3 separate regions of the Homo sapiens genome follow, and all the other regions are linked to region 3. The links are contacts of gene promoters, found by promoter capture Hi-C in blood cells and fetal thymus (Javierre and others, 2016). All regions are on one chromosome and are shown on one strand. Each heading gives the region's core, a stretch centred on a gene start or on the middle of the fragment in contact. The rest is flanking DNA. Distances are from core to core; before and after follow the strand shown.

Region 1 (4,775 bases), core at 964-3,463, 1.3 Mb after region 3:
AAAAATACAATTAGCAAGAAGAGCTTCAGCATCATAGCTAAGACACATTGAATTCCAGCAATTTGTCAACTATGTAGCTGATATACACACTTGATTTTTGACCCTCACAACAACGTTGTGAGGTGGGTATGACTATTTATCAGAGGGTCACTTTGGGAAGGTCCCAAGCTTATTACAACCTTCATGTACAACTTTTTTTTTTTTTTTTACTAGAACATTGTAATATAAACTTATTGGTAGAACTCTGAGCCATTCAGACATATTTGTACTAAAGAAACTAAAAATGTTCCATAAGGGAAGATCATTACAATTTAGGGGAGAGTGGTGCAGAAAAACATTTTGTGGCTTTTGTTTTCTTTTTCTTTTATTGCTAAATAACATTACTTCGCTAGTGTTTGAGTCAAACACACATTAAAAAAAACTATTAGAACATTCAGACTTGATTATCCAAAGAAAAAGGAAAAAAAGGAAGCCAACCAATTAGGGTGGCTGCTTAAATTATCTTTCCCCATTCTCAAGGTTTTTTGTTTGTTTGTTTGTTGCGTTTGGGGTGGGGAGGTGAGGGGCGTTTATTTGGAGGGAAGACGGGGAAGGTCCACTCTGCCTACAACTCCGACATTTCTCCGTGTGCCTCTTTGCTAGCTGGGGACACTTCGTGGCTGATTACTATGAGGAGTGGTTCGAAGCCTAAGAAGTAGTACTCTTTTCAGCTGCCAAAGGGAGAAGGACGGGGGCGCTGTCTGGTGACTGTTCGCGTGATTCCTTCAAGGCGGCGACCACCTCCTGGGATTCGCTCTCCAGCCGCGCCGTTCGTACTCGGGTCCCGCGACCCCTCCCCGCTCCCCCCTCGCCCCAGCGATGCCAAGACGCTGAACCGCAGGGACGAGGCTCTGGGGACAAAGTCACCCCGCGGCGCCCTTTCCTGCCAAGCCGCGGGCTCCTGGCGGTCAGAAAGCGCCCCAGGCCCACCCCTGCGGGCCCGGCTTTCCCTCCTCACCTAAGGCTCCGGGGCCACGAGTCCCCCATCCTGCGCCCCTCCCGCGCCTCCCCCATCCCAAACCCCAGCAGCGTCGCTGCCTCTCCCGGAAACAAGCCCGCTGAGCAAAGGCGGAGGAAAACCTTGGGCCTTCCGCTCTGATTGGTCTCCCCCCGCCGAGCGGGGCGAGGCAGCGATTGGCTGCCGGGCGTTGTCAGTCGCCGAGGCCAGAGCCATCGCCGGGGAAGCGCAGCCGGGCTCGGGTGCTTCGGCTGCCGCCGCGGCTGCTCGGCTAGTGCAGCTGGGCGAGCTCGCGCGGGCGCCGCCGCCGCCTCTGCTGCTGCCCACCCCGCCGCGCCGCCGGCGCTGCCGGTCTTGCAGGCGGCCGCCGGGGAGGGGCGGCCGAGAGAGCGGAGCACGAGGAGGCGGGGGCGGCAGAGAAGTGATGCTGGCGCCGGGGATCGGGGCAGCGGCAGCGGAGCAGCAGCATCTTCGGGACCCTGGCTGCAGCGTCCCTGTGGCCCGCGCGCCAGCCCAGCGGCCGGAGACCACGCGCCCCGCGGGTAAGGTTCTGTCCGGCAGCGCCCGCGACGCCCCCGGGACGGCTGGCGTGGTCTTTGGGGGTTACGAGGCGCGTGGTGGCCGGGGCATCCCGACGAAGGTGTTGGGACCCGGACTGCGTGTCCCGACGCTGGGCTGTGCTACTGCCCGCGCCCGTGCGGCTCCAGCTGGTGCGTTCTCCCTTCCGCGCTCACAGACTTTGACAGCGCGGGGATGGCATTGTGTGAGTGTGGATGTGGATGCGTGTGTGCGCGCGCGCGGCTTGGGGCACTTTGCAGCGAGAACAGTGGGTCCCCTCTGCGTGGCCCGACGTCCTTCAAGGACCCAAGCTGGGCTGGAGTGAGTAGGATGCTGTTGGCTCGGCGGGAGGTAGAACGCACGGAGCGCACGGGAAAGTCCACCGTGGCTCGTAAAGAGCCGAGCAAATTGAACTTTATTGCGGTGATTAAAAGGAGCTGTGGACCTGGCGCGCCAGGGGAGAGGCGCGTTCCACGAGGCTCCCCAAAGTCCCACTTTGCCCCGGGGACTTCGGAGGGGAAGGGAAGAGAGGGAAAAGTAACTGTTGGTCCACATTGCTGAAGAAAAGGAGGAAAGAGAAGTTGGGGGTGGGGGTGGGGGTGGAGGTTACTCTTGGGGGAGTGGCGACTTTTAGGTGTCTGAAGCCCCGCGTGGGAGGCTTGCTACACTTTTCTGGAGCGCAGACTTGAGGATGGAGAGTCCCACTCTGAGGTACTGGTAGCGGCTCCTCCTGCCTGGTGGCGGCGTAGGGCGCAGCGGGACAGCTTGGTGGAGGCAGAGCGGGGCTCCGACGCCCGACGGCCCGGCGTCCAGGTGGGGCCACTGCCTCCCCAGGCCGCTTTGGCCCGCTGACCTCCCAGGTTGAGACCCGGCCTGGTGCGCCTCTGGCAGCTGCCAAATGCCTGGCGGCTCCGCTTTCCGACAAAGTTCAGGCCCGCTGGGGTCTGGTCCATCAGACCTAGGACACGTTAACCACGCAGAGTAACCAGGTTAGGGTACCCAGCTGCCTCCAGAGCGTTTTTGTTTCATATTAGATTATCTTATTTGATAAAGCTGTTGAGAGTTCCACCCGTGCTGCAAAGCCTTCCGCAGAAGGCGAATTCTTTGCGCTGCTGCAAATGGATGGTGCTACTGGGCCAGATCCGAATCTCCGTAGTTCAGTGCAGTGGGTTCTCCATCCCTGCTCAGGACGCACAAACTTACTCTTGGCGATTGTTTTCTATGTGGCTCCTTGTCTCCGTGGGAGTATCTGCTTAGGAAAGTTCTTGAAATACCTCAATACTAAGGAGCTCTCCCCACTGTCTCAGATGGGGCGAGGCTCCGGTACTTGACTGGCGTTGGGGTTGCAGCAGGGAATGGAGGTGGAACATCAGCTCCCTGCCTGCCAGCTTTGGTAAAACAAAAATTGGCTCAATACAGGGAGGCGGATCTTGAACTGGGGACAGCATTTTTCTTGTTATGTAGCTCCGTAATCTCTTTCACTAGAGGGATCTTTTGTCCCAAAACAAAACAAATCACAACACAACAAAAATACCCAAAACCAAACCGCAGAAACCACTTTGATTGGGCTCATTTCTGATTTGGTAAACCAGAGAAAATGAAAGTAAGGCACGTAATAGAAATGCTATAGAAAATCAGGAGGGAGCTGTCCAAATATGTCAGGCATTTTTCGATAGTTATTTTTCATTGTAAAGATTCTATTTTCTCCCAATTTAACAACTAAGTTATTTTAAAGCAGATGAATAACTTACGATAAACTAGTAGTGATGTTAGTTTTGGGTCCAAGGATGGTCTCATGGTTTTCATCACTTAATTGTTGTGCTGTAAATGGATTTTTTTATTATGATTTTAGTCACACATACTGCATTTGGACTAGTAAAAAATTGGTGCTAAGTATTTTCTTCTTAGCATTCATCATGTCTGGCTTAAAAGTGTGGTTTTCTGATATGATTAAAGAAAGTATATAGTTTGTGGTGGTTGTTCTATACAAAATTTACCTGCTTCCAGGTGATTAATATTGCAATATTTTAGTTATTGAAACCTTCAGGACTTTGTTAAGGTTACTAAAACAGGCTAAGCAGTTTATGTTAGTTTTGTGTTTCTTTTATGCAATACTATGTGCTGGTAAAACTTTTTGTTTTCCTCATAGGTTAATATGGGGGAAATAGGATTAAAGTGTGTTATACTTATTAATTAACAATTTTAAAATAAACTTCAATTAAAACTAAGCTATCAGTAACAGCCAGTACTAAAAATGGAACTTCTAAGGAAAATTTTAACGACTTGGCTAAGAAAGTGCTTTTTCACCTTGACATCAAGTAACATTTTATATATCCACTGCATTATGTATTGGAGTAAGCCACAAGTCTTAAAATGGAATTAAGAGCCTTTGTGCTCATTTTAAGGTTGTGTGTGTACGTGTGTGTGTGTGTGTGTGTGTGTGTGTGTGTGTATGGAACTTTTACTTGGAGGAAATCTTTTTTTAGATAATTTTAAAACGAGTAGGACAAATATAATCAAGTACAGAGAATTGTGTCAATGGTCATAAATATTAGGATAAGGCCATAGGAAATATGTTTAAGCATAAACAAATGATGCAGAGTTGGGGTTGGGGGTGGGCACAGGCTTTAGGGAGCTAATGGGTAGTGCCAGCCACTTAATTTATACAAGCAGTTCAAATTGTACCATTTCTGCGAATGTACTTAAGCTTTAACTTGTTTTGCTTCAGGGCAGCCCATGAGCTTAGACTGCCATATATTCTAGATGAATTTTAGTAATACAAGTAATGTCAACTTGTGAAGACCCTAGGCCACTAAATTCACTTCTTGACTTGTACAAAATTTTAATTTTAATACTCATCGGATAACTTTTCTAAGAAGATCACATCAATATGAATAGCAATGCTAATAGATACAATTATTTTATGAAATAAAACTTATTTAATTTGTCAGATAGTCACGATTAGTGTTTGTACGTGAATAGGTAAGAAAGTGAGGTTTATAGCGATTTGTTTTAATTAATAGTGAAATCATTCTTTTTCTAAAACTAACAATGTTAGGGGAATTAAAAACTTCAACTGGTTAGTAAATCAGAAGTTCATTCTCATTTTTTCTTTGTCTCTTTCAGTCTGTCTCTTTCTTTCGCTCTCTCTCACCACACAAAAACACATGCATACTAGAAAGGTTCTCAGAAGGAATTTCGCCATGCTGCATTTGAAACA
Region 2 (4,344 bases), core at 103-2,602, 1.1 Mb before region 3:
CGCACTCCCAGGCTCCTCCGGCCGAGTTTGCACAAACAAAACGCCCTAGGAAAACTTTTCCCGAAGAGAAGTTGGGAGGGCTGATCTCTCTTTTCCCACCCAAGGCTCCTACGTTCTTTTCCAAAGGAGACAGTAGCTCGCCTGTTCTCCCTCGCGGCTTCCTCTCCTACTCTTCCCTTCCCCGGCCCGCGCTCTTGCCGCTCGGCTCTCAAGCCAGGACTTGAATGGAGAAGCGGCAACCCCTGCGAGGCTCAGCCCAGCGCGGGCAGGGCCGACTCAGCACCTCCCCTGTCCCGCGGGCGGGGTGCGGGCGCTGGCTGGGCGCTGGGGGCCTCGCTGGAGCCCGCTCTCTCACTCACCCTGCCCCATTTCCCTGCCCGGAGTCCGGGAGCTCGCCGCCGCCTCTGCAGCACGGCCGCACATAAGTGGGGACCAGCTCGGCGGCATTGGAGCGAGGGAAGCAGCGAGCCGGAGAGAGGAACGGGGCGGGGGTGGGCCGGGAGCAAGTTGGAATTTCCTTCCCCCAGGGCTTCGGGTCTTTGGGGTCCGGCTGGGGAAGCTGAACCGAAAGAAAGCTCCCAGACGAGGTGTTCCCATTCCCACCGCTAGGCTGCGCTTCGGGAAGGCTGGTGCGCCTGAACCGGACAGGTGCGGGGGAAGGGAGGTTACCTGCCTTGCCAGGATCCGCGGGGAGGATTGGGGCCTCCGCGGAATGCGGTCAGAAACTCGCAGAGTGGGGCCTGCAGCTTGCCCCCCCTAGAGTCCGACCCTCGACGTCCAGGATCGTTTTTTTAAATTTGTGTTTTTAACTTGACCTTTAAGATTGCCATTCTTTTAAAAGCGCACCTGTGACACAGATCTTTCTAATTGGTGGCAGGTTTAAGCTTGCCCTGTCTTCAGAGGCATTTTTTGTAAAAGCCTATAACAGCTCTGACATGAGAACTGGACAACAGTATGTCTAATGACAGTCTATAAACTAAGAATTAAGTAATAGATTGTATTCACTTATTGGAACTTTTACAAGGGTAAAGGAATCAGACACAGCTGTGTGCTTGTTTGTACGTTTTAGTATCCACGTGCATGCCCTTTAGATGATTCTTTACACCTGACAGACAGGTACTAGGTTGGTGCAAAAGTAACTGCGGTTTTTGCCATTTTTTTTTTTTTTAAAAAGTAATGACAAAACCGCAATTACTTTTGCACCACCCTAATATATTTACATATTTTATATTTTTCATAAGCGCCAATTGTTTTAAGATGCGCGCCATTCTGATGGGCCCAAAAATGTGTTTTCAGAAAACAACGTGACATTAAGAAATGAATTTAAAATTAGAGTTTTAAAAACATATTTGGATTAAACTGATGGAGAGATCTTACAGGAAGGAACATCCTGCAGGGGACTTCTGTTGTAGCACTAACATCAAGTAATAAACCTGTGTTAGCCACTGATAGAATAACATTTGGCAGGTATTACAATTAAATTGATATTAATGCTCCTTTAGTTGGTTATCCATTGCAGCAACAAAAAAAGATTGCTGAACTAAATGCCTAGCAATGTGCCATTTGTCTACCACACGCAGGCATTGGTATTTATTTCTTTCAGTGCATAATGTCCTTTCAGTGCATCTTAAATATGAAAAGAAAAAAACACATGGCTCATTTGGATTACAATACTGGAACCATATTAGAAAAAGTTGCTTTTAGAGATTTTAACTAAGAGTAAAGCAATTTATTTAAATACCTCTGGGTTTTAGTCTTTAAACAATAACTCTGTTTAAACAATTTCATGAATCATTTATGCTTCTGAATACAGAGCTGTGCAAGCTTTTACAGTTGCTTGCACAGACAATGATGCAAATATTGAGTAACAGTGAAACTACTTGAAAGTCCATAACTTTCAATCACAAGACAAGATTAAATCTTTAATTAGTTTCAGCCTTAATTTATGACATACTAGTAATATTATGGACCCTAATACCAGTAAGATTAGGCTAATCTTAGTCATAAAACATTCATAACATTTCGTAACCACTGAAGGCATTTTCAGTGCTTACCACTTTTTGCTGTCCTCCTTCTGGTCCTAGGGAGAACTATATGCTCCACCCCATGGAAATTAGGTATGACCCTGTGACTTTGATAAGTGGAAATGTGAACAGACATGAAATGCTTTATTTCCTGGTGAAATTACTGCCAGTGTTTGAGTCTCTATGTTCCCTTCCTTTGCTACTGCAATCATGAAAGCATGTATTAAAATGAAGGTGACACAAGACTGGAATGCTAAACTATTACCCAGAGCACAGCTGCCCTGGAGAGTCCCAGGACCTACAACAGAATCCACATAAGCAAGAAATAAGCTCATGTTGGGCAAAACCACTTAAGAGCACCACCAAGCTTGGTGGTCTTCACATAATGGTACTAAGCTATCCTCACTGTAGCCAGTGATTAGCAAAATAATAATCACAGATTTGCTATAAATCTTTTTTTTTTTTTTTTTTTTTTTTTTGGAGAAGGAGTCTTGTTCCTGTTGCCCAGGCTGGAGTGCAGTGATGCGATCTCGGCTCACTGCAACCTCCATCTCTGGGGTTCAAGTGATTCTCCTGCCTCAGCCTCCCGAGTAGCTGGGATTACAGGTGACCACCACCACGCCTGGCTAATTTTTATATTTTTAGTAGAGACAAGGTTTCACCATGTTGGCCAGGCTGGTCTCGAACTCCTGGCCTCAGGTGATCTGCCCACCACAGCCTCCCAAAGTGCTGGAATTACAGGCATAAGCCACCATGCCTGGCTGCTATAAATCTTTTCACATAACAGGAGAAAACTGCTGTTTTCCAATCTTTCTAGTTATGCAGAGCTGTTTCAAAATTGCCCACGTTTCCAAGATTGCGCTCAATTTCCCCGTTTGGGAATCTCCCCCTCATTTCACCACCCAGCCGATCATTTTAAGTGCCTAAGCATAGGTATTATCCCCTCAGGAATACTTCCCTCATTGCAGAAATAGAAGTAGCCCTTCCCTTTCTTGGCCCCCAGTAGGTTCTGTTAGGTAGGGCAAGGACCCATGACACTTTGTTTCAGTTATTCATTTACATAATGCAGAGTTGGAGGGGTTTATTCTCTTTTTTTTTTTTTTTTGAGACAGAGTCTCACTGTCACCCAGGCTGGACTGCAGTGGCATGATCTTGGCTCACTGTAACCTCCACCACCCAGGATCAAGTGATTCTCCTGCCTCAGCCTCCCGAATAGCTGGGACTACAGGCATGTGCCACGTGCCCGGCTAATTTTTTATATTTTTAGCAGAGATGGGGTTTTACCATGTTGGCCAGGCTGGTCTTGAACTCCTGACCTTGTGATCCGCCTGCCTCGGCCTCCCAAAGTGCTGGGATTATAGGCGTGAGCCACAGTGCCCAGCCTACTCTTAAAGGACCACGTCTTATCCTTTGTCTCCTGAAAGCATAGCCCAGAACACAGGAGACTCTCCACCAGTATTTGTGTACTGAATAAAGGAATGAAGGAAACCTTCAGGCCTTCCCTCCTCAGAAGAATCCTAAAAGGAACTTGATTCAGGGAAAGACTTCAACTCAAAGGGGCTGGTAGGCCATTTTAAATGGAACAGATGGAAGGTGAGTTTGTCTTACTAGAGAAAGAAGACTTATTCTTCACGTGGTTACCTAATGGGGTTAGTACCAAAATCAATGGGTAGAATGAAGCTAAATGAAGGTCCACTTAGCTATATATCTCTCTGAATAATAATCTAGGTTTCATATTCCTCCTGGATAGTAATAAATGGAAAGGAGGTTTACATGCTTAATAAATACCTGTGTGCTTATATAAAAAGCAGATAGGCATGTTAAAGTGGGCCATAATGGTTGGAGTTTGTCTAAAATTTTTGTAAACTATTTGGAATAATGAAAACATTTTTAAATGCTTATTTTAAGTATGTTTTTATTCCACTATAAGTACCACTTGAAAAGCTTTATTTAAAACTGAAAAATTACACTTAAAAGATGGTTAATATCTTTCTGTGCATTTCACCTTTGCACATTACAACCTAAAGGAAGTGTTTATTTTATGTCTTCTTAGATTGTGTACATGTGTGTGTTTGTGGTTTTATATAACAAGATCAGAGTTGTTACATTTCAGTTTTAATAAAAGTCTTATTTCAGACTTTGTATTTCATAGAAACTGCCCAATCTCAGAAAATATGTTATGTTATTTATGCATAAGACTTTGTTGATGAAAACAGGGAGCTGAAAGTCAGAATTGTAGCTTTATTCTCAATTCAGTAATATATGCATAATAGTTAATTATCCATTCATCTCTGTGTAGTGCTTTCATAATTTGAGTATT
Region 3 (4,477 bases), core at 759-3,258:
TTTCAGATGAGACTGTAATCTGAAGACTAACTGAAATATAATGTAGTAAATGTAAGAAAAGAGCTTATAAACTCCTTTGGGAATGTGGGATAGCAACATTTTGACAGCATTGAAAACTGAATGTGGTGTGAGGGGAGGATGGATGACTAAAATCAAGGGAAAGATTATTGGGGAGGATTTCAGAGCTGACTCTTGAATTGCAAACCCCTCATTCTCCCTCCACACACGTACACGCTCTTCCTATTTCCTTTTCATGATTCTTGAGGAAGGTACAGGAGTTAGGAAGAGGAACTGCAACAACACAGATAACAAGTCATCAATGGTACATTGGGATGGCAGTGGTGATGAAGATGACTAAAAGCCACTCCATACTCTAGAGCAGGGTTTGGCAAACCACACTCTGTGGGCCATATCTGGCTGGCTGGCTGTACAGCCAGTGAACTAAGAATGGTTTTTATATTTTCCAGCTGTCAAGGAAAAAAAAGAAATATTTCATAACATGAAAATTACATGAAAGTCAAATTTCAGTGTTCATAAATAAAGTTTTATTGAAACACAGCCATGCTCATTTAAGTATTGTCTATGGCTGTTTTGAACAAGCCAATTAGATGTGATAGACCATACGGTCCATAAAGTCTAAAATGTGTACTATCTGGCCCTTTGTTGAGAAAGTTTGCTATTCTCTGCTCTGGAGGCTTAAGTGAGACAGAGAGTATTGGATGATGAGGTTGGAGACGAAGGTGGGGTGAAAAGCCTCATATTAAGTACTTGGACTTGAACCTCAAGTCTAAGTAATGAGGAGGCCCATTTTTACATTTTACATTAAAGTGTTTTTATTAAAATGTTCATTTGGGTGGCAGTGCAAATAATACATTTAAGGGAATAAAAAAATGTAAGGATATAGGGGGATAGCTAGAACAGAGGATAATGTAAAACTTCAGGCAGAAAAACAAGACATTTCAGCATTCCCTAACCTCCTACATCGCCAAATTGTCCTCCATCCACTTATCACCATCTCACAGGATACACATTTCATTTACCTACTTGTTGTCTGACTCCTCCTACTCAAATGTAAGCTCCAAGATTGGAAGAGTTTTTCTTGGTTTTATTATTTCAGTGCTTAGAACAGTGCTAGACACATAGGAGGCATTCAGTAAATATTTGTTGAGTCAACTGAATTAGGGTTTTTCCCCAGCATTAATTAGCCTGTAAAATCTGAGAAGGCAGAAACTGTTCAGTTTTGCTCACTGCTATCTCCAGCTTCTAATGGACATACAGTAACCCTTCATAAATATTTGCTGAACGAGTGATTCAGTGAACAAATGAATAGAGAAGACCAACATCCGAAAAGTTATTTTATTTTCAAGCCTCATGTCTTTAACTGTTTTATATCAGCCTTTCTTAAGTTGACCGTCATTAATATTTGCTGAATGAATGAGTCAGTGATAAACAGAGAAGACCATCACCCTAAAATAACGACCCCTCCACTTTTAAGTCTTACGTCTTTAATGGGTTTCATATAATCTTTCTGCGCTCTTTTTACTGTCCAGTGTGGGAGCTGACACTAGTTTGCCTTAAGTCCTTAAAAATCGCACCCGGAGGCGCAGTGTCATAGGTAACCCAAGCTTTCCTAGTAAACATGATACAAAAGTAAACACAACCAACAGCATGGGGACCAGCAATTCAGAAACACCGAGCGGGCGGGCTGCCCAGACCTGGGCTTCCCCAGCAGGGCCCGCGGAGACCGGCCGTGAGCAGAGGCTGCAGGCCCACCCCGCAACCCGAGCAGCCGGGGCACCGCAGGGAAACAGCGGCCTAGCGAAGCCACCCGAGCTCCCTCCGCGCCCCCGGGCCAAAAGGCCGCAAAGGAACTCCGCCCGCCCGCCCGCTCACCCGCTCACCCGCTCACCCGCTCACCTTCAATTCCTGCGAGTCCATGGCTGCCCCGAGGCCGGGCCGCGGGGCTCTGGGGATTGTCTCGCCGCAGCCTAAAGGAAGACGCAGAATTCAGCTCCCCTAGCCTCCCGGAGCGCTCTAGCGCCCCGGGCCCCAGCGGGAGGGGCGGGGTCGCGCCGCGATTGGCTGTCGGAGGGAGAGGCGGGCCTGTGTGGCGGGGATCGTGCTGTAATGGAGCAGGGGCGGCGGGGACCCGGAGGTGAGGGCTGCGAGGGCCGCCCGGGAGGGTCCGGGCTGGGAAAAGGGCCTCCGCCGGAGAGTGCAGCTGGAAAAGGAGGTCACACTGGGAAACGGCTGTCTGAGGACAGTGGGTGGGCGGGCCGAGGAAATGGAATTCAGGAATAAAGGAAACGGAGTATGAAGAAGGGGAAGTCTGTTTCCTGTCACTGGTTGTAAAGGAAGACACCATTTTCTGCACGTTTGTCTGGAGGCGGATTCCCGCAGTGCGGCTCTCAGCAAGGCTCTGCCGGCGCGGGAAAAAGCGGTCAACTTTCACGTGGGCAAGTTGTTTTACGGCCACAAGGTGGCGCAGAAAAAAAAAATCACACGTTCTTAACAGAAATACGGTGCGCTTGGGCCCGTCTTTGCAGGCGTTGCTGCAATCTTTGTTAGAATGTGTGTTCAATTAGCCCTTTTTTACCAGCCCCGATAATAAGAGGGACAAATAAATTAAACTTCCAGAAAATTAGTGTCTTGTTTTCAATGATACTACTGATTTTAAACTGAGAATAAAATGAATCCCAATGCAAATTTTTATGTTTGCACCCCATTAGGCAACTCAATCAGTCACACATAGATTTCTTAAGTCCAGGAAATTAAATGGAAATATAATAGACTAAGATTTTCTATTTCTGCTTAAATAAATATTTAAAATAGTGCATAAGGTCTGAGATTTAAGTGATCTTTGCAGAATCTTTCACGTGGATTCCAAATTTTGATCCTAGTGTTAATTATCTTACTTTAGTTGACATGATACGTAGTTGCCTTTTCCAGATTTTAAGTTTCTTAAGGAGTTTATAAACATTGACTTTTTCCCCATGCCAATAGGTTATGTAAGGACAGTCTTGAGAAAAACGGTAGCTACCATCCTAGGCTTTAAGGTGAAGCAATATTTCTCACCGGTTTCTCTTTAAAGGAATTCACCACGTATTTTCACGAGCAACTTTTTTTTCTTTCCAATATTTATAGTCCAGCTAAATGTCTGTGGTGATGAACAACTGGTGATATCTCTTTGATTTTCAAAGCTGCGGATTAATCCGCACTTGGTATACAGCAAAGAATACCACAGGACCAGGGTGCTCAATGAAGTGTATAATCTTGAACTGTAAACCTTTGGTTATAAGAGAAAAGTTCATCTGTAAGGAAATATCTCAGGATCATGGTTAACAGAACAGATGATCAACCTACCTTTTGGAGATCTTGAAAGTCATATTAATTTAGCCTCGTATTCTCTTCACTGAATTCTGTTCTAAGGTTGAATTATTTAGCACAAAACACCAAGCCTGATGTTTCATAAATGTTTGTTGGATTAAAAGTACTCTGAGATTTGCTTTGACACTCACGGTGACTTGGTGTGCCCTGTGCCCTTACTAGATCTCATGTAAGAAATTTATTTTGGATCTCAGGCCAGGAAAAACTCTTGTCTTTCCTGAAAAATCGATGTGTTCCTTAGCAGTAACATTTTTATCGGCTCACTTTTACTAGCTACAAACTTTTGAGTCTGATATCCATGACCCTTCACCTCATCGTCTTTTCAAGCCTTATCTTCTACCTCCCCTTCAAGGAGCCTTTATTCCGCTCAGTGGGACAAATATTCCTTCTTCTGGTAATGCTTTCCCCTACTTTGTTTTGAGCTCTTTCTTCACCTGAGAAAATCTCCTTCTTCTGAGTTCATTTCAAATTTCATGAAGTCTTTAAGGATCACCATAACTGGATGGGTATAAAAATATCACAGTGTAGTGGCAAGAATACCCTCTTCTGCATCTGAGGTGGAGCTCCTATTACGCTAGCTACTTTTGTGACTTGGGGAAGTAATTTCCCTAAGCCTCATTTTCCTTATTTACTAAAGAAACTAAATGCCTTACAGACATATTAAAACTTCCTGACACATAATAGGCATTGTATAACCAATAGTTTCCATTAAACACGTAGTGCTCTATAGCAGTGGTCCCCAATCATTTTGGCACCAGGGACCAGTTTGGTGGAAGACAATTCACAGAAGATAAATTTTCCATGGACAGGGGTAGGGGAGATGGTTTCGGGTTGAAACTATTCCATCTCAGATCATCAGATTCTTATCTAAGGAGCATACAGCCTAGATCCTTCACATGCACAGTTTATAATGGGGTTTGCATTCGTATGAGAATCTAATGCCTCGCTGATCTGACAAGGAGGTGGAGCTTGGGGTAACGCTCCCTTTCCTGCCCCGCAGCTCACCTCCTGCTGTGTACCCCGTCCTGCTGTATACCCCATCCTGCTGTGTAGCACTGATTTGCAGTCCTCAGATTGGGGACCCCTGCTC

Evidence for each region. The method cuts DNA at HindIII sites, captures the fragments that hold promoters and counts their contacts. A CHiCAGO score of 5 or more calls a contact.
Region 1: a fragment that was not itself captured here is called in contact with the fragment with the promoter of TTC21B in region 3 in 1 of 17 cell types (fetal thymus); the score reaches 6.4 in fetal thymus.
Region 2: a contact is called between a fragment that was not itself captured here and the fragment with the promoter of TTC21B in region 3, in 1 of 17 cell types (fetal thymus). The highest score is 6.2, in fetal thymus.

What each region holds. Positions count from the first base shown.
Region 1 is chr2:167,291,796-167,296,570 of GRCh38, forward strand. B3GALT1 (beta-1,3-galactosyltransferase 1) reads left to right here and starts at 1,206. Exons shown (of 5, transcript NM_020981.4): 1 at 1,206-1,539. RefSeq lists enhancers at 472-1,085, 2,314-2,926 and a silencer at 1,321-1,370. The HindIII fragment of the contact is 4,094 bases long and covers 167-4,260 here.
Region 2 is chr2:164,841,598-164,845,941 of GRCh38, forward strand. COBLL1 (cordon-bleu WH2 repeat protein like 1) reads right to left here and starts at 226. Exons shown (of 14, transcript NM_001365672.2): 1 at 113-226. The region is part of intron 1 of LOC101929633 (a long non-coding RNA gene); the gene reads left to right. RefSeq lists a silencer at 200-409. The HindIII fragment of the contact is 940 bases long and covers 883-1,822 here.
Region 3 is chr2:165,951,768-165,956,244 of GRCh38, forward strand. It overlaps TTC21B (tetratricopeptide repeat domain 21B), which reads right to left and starts at 2,009. Exons shown (of 29, transcript NM_024753.5): 1 at 1,918-2,009. The coding sequence starts at 1,938. RefSeq lists a silencer at 1,860-2,259 and an enhancer at 2,024-2,773. The HindIII fragment of the contact is 9,565 bases long and covers 1,624-4,477 here.